2 separate regions of the Homo sapiens genome follow, and region 2 is linked to region 1. The links are contacts of gene promoters, found by promoter capture Hi-C in blood cells and fetal thymus (Javierre and others, 2016). All regions are on one chromosome and are shown on one strand. Each heading gives the region's core, a stretch centred on a gene start or on the middle of the fragment in contact. The rest is flanking DNA. Distances are from core to core; before and after follow the strand shown. Region 1 holds the start of SNX14 (sorting nexin 14). Region 2 overlaps LOC124901232 (translation initiation factor IF-2-like).

Region 1 (5,924 bases), core at 1,471-3,970:
TCCAAAACATTTAATATGTAATTGCCTTAAAACTAATTTTAATTTACATTTAATACAGTTTTCATGGTAAGTCTTTGAAATGTGACAGGTACTTTACACATCACAACAAACCACATTTCAAGTGCTCCCTGGCCACATGTGGCTACTGACTATTGTATTGGACAGTGCAGATGTAGAACTTTAGCGTAGGCAGTCAGCCTTTCTGGACCTCAGTTTTCCTAGAAATCAGGTATTTAATATGTCATTTTCATTTTAGATTGTCGTAATCCAAATAAAAGCTAATTGGTTTAGCTCATTATTGTCATGTTCATAAAGCCATAAAATTTGAAAAAAAAATTTTGTCTTAAGCATTGTACAGAGATATTTAAGAGGCACTTTCCAACTTTCCACCCATTTTAGCCCCCACCCCCCACCTGTTTTATGAAAATAGCTCTGTTTTAGAGTTGAGGTAGGAGTGAGATAGATCAAGTTAATCTTGCTAACATGTTGCTAGTAGGAGATAGAGCTAGTTTCAGAACCAGGGTTGGTTGATTGTGGATATTCCATATAACCTCTCCAAAGTTCAGAACTTAACAAGGTTGGGGAAAAAATTTCGAGCTCTGTGCGTGTAAAGGTGGGTTCTAGACCATAGGCTAAAGACATGTAATGAAATAAAGGTTATTTCCTTAGATGAGGTCCGTAGTGACAGAAATTGAATTATGTTTCATGCTTTAGGTGTGGAAATTCTCTGCCATAAAGAATTTCCTTATGGCTGAAGTTTATTATATTTTTTTTCCTTTTCTAATCATAAGAGCAATTTGGAAATTTAAATTATCTATTGTCCAGTTAACTTATTCTAATTGCCTCTAAGAAATCAGATGGGAAAGAAGTCTTTTAATTGGATGTTGTAGTGATGTCTGTTTTGAACAGAACTCAAAACATTTTGTCTTTAAAATATACTGGCTCTTGGTGAAAAGAGTAATTTCAAAATAAGGCTTTAAAAGGAAGCAAAAGTTTTAAACAAAAGGCAACATAATTTACCAGGCAGGTTAATAACTTACATTATTTGTCATGAGATTAGTTTTTTAAAAGGTAATTTACAAAAGTGTAAAGCACTCAAGTCCATAGGAGGCACTTGATACATGTAGATCCACTCAACATACACCTATTTTAGTATTAACAGATAAAGATACTTAAAAACTGCCAAAGTGAAATTAATAAATGTTTAAATATGTACCTAGAAATATTAAAAAATGGTAAGCTTTCCAATGATGTTACACTGTAGTCTTTTAAATGGTTTAGTCACAAACAGAAAAGTGTATTTGTGATGTTTAGACAATAATAGCTAATCGTGAGGATCAGTGAAATTGTTTACTTTTATACACCACTGTGGAGTTGGTACCACCATTCTACAAAGCAGTTTGACTGTATCAAGAATGTTTGTTTTTACCCTTTGACCCAGTAATTGTATTAAAGTTGATTCTAAATAATTAGAAATGTGCATAGGTTTATCATCAAGGATGGTAATATCAATGGACTTTAGTGGTTAGCAATAATGGAACAGGATGGTACATTCTGATAAAGGATAATAATGCATCATTAAAGATCCATGTTTTTGTAATACGGGAAAATATTCATGAAACTACATACATCATTAAAAAACATTTGTTTCCCCACTTTGAAGGATAAGATCCTAGGAAAGAGAGATGACAGGCACAGGCTCTGTCTTTAGAACGTGTTCAAATTCCGGCTTTGTTAGTTTTATGATCCTAAGTTCCTTTCTGTCTCAGTAATTTGCCTGTATAATGATTGAAACTATAGTACTGTACCTACACCATGGGGTGAATGCATGAAGGTCAAATGAAAGTGCTTAGTGTCTGTACCGCCTAAGTAAATTTTCGCGATAATAGTCTTCCTGCATCTCTCACTGTAGCGGACAATACAGAAAAAAAAATTTAGAAATGTGATGAATTAGTAAAGGGAAAACCCCATGAGACTCTATAAGAGGGATTTTACCTAATCTGCCAACCTGCCTCTTCCAAGCACTCGGATTTTGGTTGGGCTCCCGGAGCCGGCGTGAATTGAGCTCTACCCTTGCCCGTGAGCGCGCAAAAGAGATTTTGTTGGTGGGGTGGCGGCCTGATGAGTTGTAGTCTTTATTCTAGGGCTGTTTTACTCGCCACCCCCCCAGCCCCCAACACACCCCTTTTAAAATACCGACTCAAAGGCGTCCTCCTATCCCCCTCTCCCTTAGGCGTCACGCAAAGCTCGGACCTGCTCCCACCCGGAGCCGAGTGTACGGTGAGGCGCGGAGCGTTGCGGGGTCGGGGAAGCGCTACCACCCGCTCCATCCCTCTGCGGGTTCGTGTCACGAAGACTACAGTTCCCAGCGGGCTCCACGAGCTCCGGTTGCCCCTCAGGCAGCGCCCGGCGGCTACGGGGGTGCTGTAGTTTCTTCCGGGCTCCCTACAACCTTCTTCCCTCTCCTCCGCAATACAGGCAGTTACTGGGTGCTGGGGCTGTCCTTTGATTTCCGGAAATGGCCGGTCGCCAGTGTTGTCAGAGTTTCCACGGAAGACTGCGCGCTACTCCGGCCAGGAGGGCGGAGCGGCGAGACGCTAGAGGCTTTGCGCTGGGTGACGACTTCGGGCACGTTCTACGGCCGTTCCTCTGGTCGGCTGGGGACCGCGGCCGCGCACGCGCGGCGGGGGGCGTGGGGCTGGGCCCAGCCGGACGCGACCTCAGCCTGCGGCGGCTAACTGCCGGTAGGCGTCTGTGTGCGCCGCCAAGTCGGTGGGGCGGGGACGCGAGGTGTGGATGGGGGGTCGCCTTGACCTCTGCCTCAGCCAGTAGCGCAGTCTCGGCCTCGCCGTTACGGAGATGGTGCCCTGGGTGCGGACGATGGGGCAGAAGCTGAAGCAGCGGCTGCGACTGGACGTGGGACGCGAGATCTGCCGCCAGTACCCGCTGTTCTGCTTCCTGCTGCTCTGTCTCAGCGCCGCCTCCCTGCTTCTTAACAGGTAACGCCGCAGCGCGGAGCCTGGGCGGCGGCTTTTCTCCGAAGGTGCAGACGCCCGGCCCGTGCTGCTTAACCGTGCGGAGGCCGCGTAGCTGCGGGACTGGGGACCAGTGGGGAGAGCGAGCTCCGCAGAGGAGCGGCCTCGGGGAGCACGGCGGAGCGTCGAGGCCGGAAGCACAGGCCGGTGGGGTGGGGTTGATTGCCTCCTTTCCCGAGGCTTCGTCTCCTGAGCTACCTTTTTCTCATCCATTTCTCAAAACGAGTTCTTCATCTTCGTTGCTTTTCAAAAGTGAAATCCGTGTGTCGGCTCAAATTGAGACTGTACACAGGCAGTCAAGTCAGCTGACGGAGGAGTGTTCAAGGTCCAGTTCGTAGCCGCAATTTTAGGCAGAATCCGCACACCTGCAGCGCGTTCTTCCATCTCCCCACCTCCCACCCCCTCAGCTTGCAGCTGAAGCTTTTCCCGCAGTATTGTTGAATAAAACAGACGATCATAAAGATTTGTTGGACAGAAATCAGAAAGCAAAGTGGTACCCGTCCCAACATCCTTAGAATTTTTTATTTTTGAGACGGAGTCTCGCTCTGTCACCCAGGCTGGAGTGCAGTGGTGCGGTCTCGGCTCACCGCAAGCTCCTCCTCCCGGGTTCACGCCATTCTCCTGCCTCAGCCTCCCGAGTAGCTGGGGCTACAGGCGCCCGCCACCACGCCACCACGCTACCACGCTAATTTTTTTGTATTTTTTTTTTTTTTTTTTAGTAGAGACGGGGTTTCACCGTTTTAGCCAGGATGGTCTCGATCTCCTGACCTCGTGAGCCGCCTGCCTCGGCCTCCCGAAGTGCTGGGATTACAGGCGTGAGCCACCGCACCCGGCCACATCCCTATAATATTCTTAAGAGGACTTGATGCCACCCTCCCCAAAAAAACCTGAAATATTCCGAAAGGTTAAAATTGATAAATTCAATTGACATTTTGAAATCAGAAGATTCTGCCCCCGAAATAAACTTGTTTTACTTCATTTTACTATTTCAAGAAATTGTTGCGATGCAATAGGTAGTAGAGGAGACTTTTCCATTAAAATTAACACCAGATTTGCTTTTGGTGGAAAGAAATCTGAGATAGTTCTCATTGACAGCATCCGCAAGCTGTTTTCTCTGATGTTTTGAACAGGCAACCATTCTTACTCTTTATCTTAAGGTAGTTGATTCCCAAGGATAGCAACAGGGAGGAATGCGCAAGGAATTTGGTAACTTCATTTTTCTCTGGTGTAACCATTATTTGTGACTATGTTGAAGTTAGATTTCTTCCCTAAAAGTGGCCTTGCTTTCTTGTTGATTCTTGGTTTAAATATTATTGAGCTTAAATAGTAGTTGATGTTTTACTGAGAAGTGTGCTCTGTGATGGTGAGATGTTTGAACTGTAGGAGTGTGGGAGAAGTGGGATCCTTAACAGAGGGAACACTAATTATTATTTGCTTTCTGTCATCTGGAAGGTATTCCAAGCTAGACTAACAGGTTTAGTATGAAAGAAATGTAAGCTTCATATGATTTTTATTTTTATTTTTATTTTTGAGACGGAGTCTCACTCTCTTGCCCAGGCTGGAGTGCAGTGATGCGGTCTCGGCTCACTGCAACAGCCACCTTCCAGGTTCAAGTGATTCTCATGCCTCAGCCTGCAGAATAGCTGGGACTACAGGTGGGCACCACCATGCCCGGCTACTTTTTTTACATTTTTAATAGAGACGGGGGTTTCACCATGTTGGCCAGGCTGGTCTCGAACTCCTGATCTCAAGTGATCCACCTACCTCAGCCTCCCAAAGTGCTGGGATTACAGGCGTGAGCGACTGCACGCAGCCCATATGATTAACTTTTGTCCATGGATTCTTACCTACCTCTTTTGGGAACTGGGTCAGTTTAGGTTTCTAAGGTAGGAGAGCCATCTAGTAGGAGCAGGTTAAACTAGATTTCTGAGGTCATCTACTTATGGTCATAACATTTAGTGTTGTGTGTTATTAAAAAGTCATAGGATGCCATCTGATCTGTATACCATCTAACCTGTACCCTGTATTTCTTTTATGCAGAGAAGGTAGGAAATACAGGTAAATGTTACCTGAGTGGTTGGGTTTATGAGTGAAGCTGTTTTTGCATATGTTTTGGTGTTTTCCATTTGTTACTGCTGTAGTCAGCAAAAGTGATTTTAAACACTAGAACTGTCTTGAATAAAACCATGATTATGTATCCCTTTTCCAGGAAAAATCTTTTGGAAGGTGCCAGATGGTGTATGTAGCATGCTTTTCAGTGTATATGTGTGATTAAAAAAAAAAAAACTTATGTGTGTATTCACGTACACACACACACACACAGATGATAAGAGTATCTCTGAAATGTTGTTATACAAGAAAACATGGGCCCTTCTGAGATGGGGTATACTAGGTACATCTATTCTGAAATAAAAAATAATTTTATATGAAGTTGATCCTTGAACAGTGCAGAGATTAGGGCCACTGACCCCTATGAAGTCAGAAATCCGAGTGGAATACCATGGGATCCATACAAAGTACCACTAATGATACTGGGAGTACTCCCAAGAAGCAGAGAAAAGTAATGACATTACAGAAAAAGTGAAATGCTTGGTATGTACTATGGATTGAGGTTTGCAGCTGTGATTGCCTGCCATTTCAAGATAAATAAATTGAGTGTAAGGACCATTGTGAAAAAAGAAAAGGAAATTCATGAAGCTGTTGCTGCAGCTATGCCAGCAGGTGTGAAAACTTCGTACTTTTTGCAAAGTACCTTTTCATGTTTTATTGAAAATTTAGCTTTTATGTGGGGGCAGAATTGCTATGAGAAAGGCATACATATAAACTAATGCTATTCAAAAACAAGTGAAGTCATTGTATAACAGCTTAAAGCAGAAGGAAGGAGAAGGA
Region 2 (5,924 bases), core at 2,413-4,912, about 66 Mb before region 1:
TTTTTGAGAGTCTCACACTTTCACCCAGGCTGGAGTGCAGTGGCACGATCTCGGCTCACTGCAAGCTCCGCCTGCCTCCCAGGTTCACGCCATTCTCCTGCCTCAGCCTCCCGAGTAGCTGGGATTACAGGTGCCTGCCACCACACCCAGCTAATTTTTTGTATTTTTAGTAGAGACGGGGTTTCACCGTGTTAGCCAGGATGGTCTCGATCTCCTGACCTCGTGATCTGCCCACCTCGGCCTCCCAAAGTGCTAGGATTACAGGCGTGAGCCACCGCGCCCAGCCTTTTTTTTTTTTTTTTAAGACAGAGTTTTGCTCTGTGGCCCAGGCTGGAGTGCAATGGCGCGATCTCCGCTCACTGCAACCTCCGCCTCCCGGGTTCAAGCGATTCTCCTGCCTCAGCCTCCCGAGCAGCTGGGATTACAGGTGCCCACCCCCATGCCCAGCTAATTTTTGATATTTTTAGTAGAGGCGGGGTTTCACTATGTTGGCCAGGCTGGTCTTGAACTCCTGACCTCAGGTGATCCACCCGCCTCAGCCTCCCAAAGTGCTGGGATTACAGGCGTGAGTCACCACACCCGGGCAACAAAATTTTTTAAAGACCACATTTTCACTTCCTCTGAACAATATCAAACAAAACGTGGACTTTTAAACGTTTTTAAAACAAAATCTTTCCACATCCCCTAGACTGTTAAAATAATCTGGGAAGCATGCAGCATTGTAAAACTGACTCATATTCATTTTCTCATCCAATTCCACAATTACTTATTAGAACTTATGATGGGCTGCTCTAAGATCTAAGACATAGTGGTAAAGATGACACATAGGGCCCCTGGCTTTCACAAAGCTTACATTCCAACGAAGACATCAGGAAAACTAAGTAATCTGCTTATAGACAGATGCTCTATAAAGAAATCTAGGGCTGGGCGTGGTGGCTTATGCCTGTAATTCCAGCACTTTGGGAGGCAGAGGCGGGTAAATCACCTGAGGTCCGGAAATTGAGACCAGCCTGACCAACATGGAGAAACCCCGTCTCTACTAAAAATACTAAATTAGCCAGGTGCGCTGGCATGTGCCTGTAAACCCAGCTACTCAGGAGGCTGAGGGAGGAGAATCGCTTGAACCCAGGAGGCAGAGGTTGCGGAGCCGAGATGGTGCCACTGCACTCCAGCCTGGGCAACAAGAGCGAAAATCCGTTTCAAAATAAAAAATAAAATCTACACAAGAGGTAGAGAGGTGATGTGAAAACTCAGGAAAATGGAACAGACTAGTTAAGGAACTTACAATATCCTTAAGATTTAGACATCACCAGTTGAATTTAAAAACTCAAAACAGAGATTCTGGTTAAGTAGAAACTTGACTTTTAATCTAGCTTCTACACACAAGGCTTGGGAAGTTGCTTATTCAACAATTTAACAAAAATTAACGATGTAATTCCAATCAAATCTAAACCTCTAGCCACAAAACCTTAAATTCAAGGTGCTGATCTTAATCTAAAAAACCTCATGTGGTTTGGGTTCTGGTTACCTTAGAGATTTGACTCTAAGCACCCAAAGGCAATTAAGATTAGATGAAATACTTGGCCGATGGTTCACTACTGAAACCTGATGAACTGGAATCCTCTGATTTTGTGTGTCTCTTTTCAGATAGGGTGACCAACCATTCTGGGGTTTTGTTTGTTTGTTTGTTTTTCAGACACAGTCTCAGTCTGTCACCCAGGCTGCAGTGCATTGGCACAATCTTGGCTCACTGCAAGCTCTACCTCCTGGGTTCAAGCGATTCTCCTGCCTCAGCCTCCCAAGCAGCTGGGATTACAGGCGTGCATCACCATGTCAGGCTATTATTAGAGACGGGGTTTCACCATTTTGGCCAGGCTGTTCTCAAACTCCTGACCTCGTGATCTGCCCACTTCAGCCTTCCAAAGTGCTGGGATTACAGGAATGAGCCACGGCGCTTGGTCCCATTCTGGGTTTGACTGGGACCAAGGGGTTTCCTGAGAGCGGCCAGACTTTCACTGCTAATACTGGCAAAGTCCTGGGCAAACCAGGACTGGTCACGCTATCTTCGGCCACATTTTAGAAACTGATATTTTAACAGCCACCTTTTTCAACTCTGGACTTTGTGGCAACTCTACAGAGCTTTAATATGGATCAACTACTAAAAACAAGAACCTTCCCTAAAGAAAAGCATGTTAATGTCACACATGGTTTTTACCAATCAGGTGGAAGCAGTAATTTTTCCCTATATATTTTACCATTTATTTTACTTTTAAACACAAAAATCCTGAGCCAAACACTACTTGAAGAACTGTTAAGGAATTCAGATTCACGTTTAGGAAATAATGATTCAAAATTAAAATGTCTTTAAAGATCAGTTTTCAACGACTGATAGATGTAACAACTTGGACAAATCGCTCTCAACCCAATCTGGCTGGGTAAAGGAAGCCAGTGTGCAAAGGCGACATACTGTGTAATTCCATTTATGTAACATCCTAGAAAAGGTAAAACTATAGTGATGGACAACAGATCGGTGACAGCCAGGGGTTAGGGGTGGAAACAGCACAGGTCTATAAAGACAGCAAAATAAAGTGATAGACCTGGCCTATATTCTCGTGTTGGTGATTACAACAAATAAATACTATGTTAAAAATCACAGAACGGTATACTGAAAAAAAAAAGTCACTTTTACTACATAATTCTAAGGTTTTTTTTTAAATCAGTGATGATTTCAAAAATATACCGATTTTATCATTTACTGAGGTACTGTGCTACGGCCCCCCTCCTGTTTTTATGTTCACCCAATGTTATGAGATAATTACTATTAACCCTATTTGAGAAGGAAAACTTGAGGCTCAGAGGTTCAGTAACATGCCCGAAGCCATACAGTGTGTAAGGGACGGACCATAATTCCAACCCAGATCTGATTCCAAAGGCTATATTCTCAACCACTACCAAACACTACACTCTCCCCCCTCTGTTCATAAATATCAACCACTCTATCCCTCCCAATGACAATATCAGGAGGCTATTGTTTCCTAATTCTATTCTGAACTCAATACACTATTGATAACGTGAAAATAGGGAGAAGCAAAACATGATTCTAGAGCAGTGATGTCCAACTGAACTTTCTCCAATAATAGAAATGTTTTATATTATCTGTGCTGCCCAAATATGGTAGCCTCTAGCCACAGGTGGCTACTCAGCACACATGGCTAGTGTGACACTGAGTTGAACTGGACAGCACAGTTCTAGAGAAATGATGTGACAAGAATGTACATGTCACAGAAGGAAACAATTTATTAAATTATGATGGTAACTCACCAACGATAAAAGGAAAATAATTCAAGGGAGATGTATAGTAAAGGAATGAAGCTAAGAAATGCACCACCCCCAAAGCACATCACAAAACTAAGTCTATCTTTTTTTTTTTTTTTTTTTTTGATACAGAGCCTCGCTCTGTCACCAGGCTAGAGTGCAGTGGCAACATCTCGGCTCACTGCAACCCTCCAACTCCCTGGTTCAAACGCTTCTCCTGCCTCAGCCTCCCGAGTAGCTGGGATTACAGGCATGCACCACCACGCCCAGCTAATTTTTGTATTTTTAGTAGAGACGGGGTTTCACCATGTTGGCCAGGATGGTCTCGATCTCCTTACCTCAAGTGATCCACCCGCCTCGGCCTCCCAAAGTGCTGGGGTTACAGGCGTGAGCCACCGCACTTGGCCACTAAGTCTATCTTCTGAACACCTGCTCACCGACCAAGATTCAGCTTAAAGTTATCTACATACCCACAGCACTCTGCACATCTGCAGTATAGAATAAATTGTACTAAGTATCTGTGTTTTTCTCCCCCAGTGGACTGTGACCACCTGAAGAGCAGAGATAGGTATTCATATATGCACCACTAGCATCCAATACCTATACGCAGATGTTTTCTGCAACAATAAACACCTTTTTCACTCAGTTCGAGTGGGAAAATGATCATCTTAGATCCTTTAACTACAAATTCAACTCAATTCTGCAAGCAATTGAGTACCAGGAGTGTACATAAAAAGAAGTACCTGCCCTCAGGGAGCTTACAGTGAGAGTGAGAGATACAAGATATAGGGAGACAAGTAACAAGCAAAAAGGGTAATCAAAATTAATTGTGTACAAACAGTACTTTAGGTCAGAATAGAAACAGTCAGGAATCATAGTGGTAAGGGAAAACTGAAAAATGATTTAAGTAGCCATTATCCGGCCAGGCGCAGTGGCTCATGCCTGTAATCCTAGCACTTTGGGAGGCCAAGGCAGGTGGCACACCTGAGGTCAGGAGTTCGAGACCAGCCTGGCCAACATGGTGAAACCCCATCTCTACTAAAAATACAAAAATTAGCCGGGTGTGGTGGTGCACGCCTATAATCCCAGCTACTCAGGAGGCTGAGGAAGGAGAATCACTTGAACCCGGGAGGTGGAGGTTGCAGTAAGCCAAGATTGTGCCACTACACTCCAGCCTGTGAGATGGGAGTAAGACTCCATCTCAAAAAAAAAAAAAAAAAAAAAAAAAAAAGTAGCCATTAGCCCATTCCGTGAAGCAAAGGTGTAAGATAACTTATTGTATCCCAACCTATAATTTAGAAAAGCCTAATGGATTAAAAAAATTTTTAAGGAAGTCTTTAGAAATTTATCCTGCCTTCGCTCACTACCAATGTCATCCTATTCCTTTTATCACTAAGCTAAAACTAGTCTTAGAACAAAATCCTTCCAGATCCAAAATTTCTATGAAAATTTCACAGCATAAAGAAGTGTAGTCTTCTTTACACTTAAATTCTCATCATCTTTAAGTCACAACATCCTTTTGGGTTCTCAAAATGTGCTAATTGGAATTAGTTTGCACAGTACATCTCATAGTGAGTATACAGGCAGCATCTGGAATGGTCTATTCAAAGTAGTTTGAATTCATTTAATAAGTACATTTCCTGTTTCCTCTAAAAATGAACAGGAGGGGTGCTAGTATGAGGAATCTAGACACCAAGCATTATCTGAATTTTAAAGTGTATTATAATATGGAGGTCTGCAAACTAGAAGACTGGCGAACAGTTCTACAGTGTAACTTCTTAATTTTCTCATCTTTATCAGCTCACATGTTATTCATGACAAAGGTCAGAGAAAATTTGTGAGGTTTTCCTAGACTGAATGACCTTGGGCTGCTTAATTACTTAAATTCTTTGAGCCTGCTTTTTCAAATTGAAGACTGAGAAGGAAGTGTGACTAGATGCCCTCAGAGAAAAAAACTGACTTAATTAACTAAGATAATTACTTATAGGTTGATTTCAGCATGGCTTTTGGTGCAATCCTAACTCATCTTTAAAATGGAAAAACAGGCCAGGGTGGTGGCTCATGCCTGAAATCCCAGCACTTTGGGAGGCTGAGGCAGGTGGATCACCTGAGTTCAAGAGTTCGAGACCAGCCTGGCCAATATAGTGAAACCCCATCTCTACTAAAAATACAAAATTAGCCGGACGTGGTAGGGGGCACCTATAATTCCAGCTACTAGGGAGGCTGAGGCAGGACAATCACTTGAACCCGGGAGGCAGAGGCTGCAGTGAGCTGAGATGACGCCACTGCACTCCAGCCTGGGCGACAGAGCAAGACTCCATCTCTAAATAAATAAATAAATAAAATATAAAGTGGAAAAACATATAAATGTGGCAGCTATTAAACTATGTCCATAATTCTTTGATACTCATCCCCTGAGTTTGGGCTGGACTTAAGTGACTTCTTTTTAATAGAATATGGCAGAAGTGATGGTGTGTGGCCTCCTCTCTGCTCTTGCTTGAATCACCTACTCTGCGGGTAGCTAGCCTTCGCCACTGCTTGAGGACACTCAAGCAGTCCAATGAAGAACTTCCACCATCAGCCATAGCTGACTTGCCAAATGAGAGCCA

Evidence for each region. The method cuts DNA at HindIII sites, captures the fragments that hold promoters and counts their contacts. A CHiCAGO score of 5 or more calls a contact.
Region 2: a fragment that was not itself captured here is called in contact with the fragment with the promoter of SNX14 in region 1 in 1 of 17 cell types (total B cells); the score reaches 6.1 in total B cells.

The regions. Positions count from the first base shown.
Region 1 is chr6:85,590,654-85,596,577 of GRCh38, reverse strand. SNX14 (sorting nexin 14) reads left to right here and starts at 2,720. Exons shown (of 29, transcript NM_153816.6): 1 at 2,720-2,999. The coding sequence starts at 2,860. RefSeq lists enhancers at 2,428-2,547, 2,858-3,027, 2,476-3,059, 3,060-3,643, 3,644-4,229 and a silencer at 2,578-2,797. The HindIII fragment of the contact is 2,215 bases long and covers 1,243-3,457 here.
Region 2 is chr6:151,395,551-151,401,474 of GRCh38, reverse strand. It overlaps LOC124901232 (translation initiation factor IF-2-like), which reads right to left. Exons shown (of 3, transcript XM_047419613.1): 3 at 1-5,924. Among named protein-coding and RNA genes, the nearest start is that of ZBTB2, 7.0 kb to the right of the region's middle. The HindIII fragment of the contact is 5,623 bases long and covers 851-5,924 here.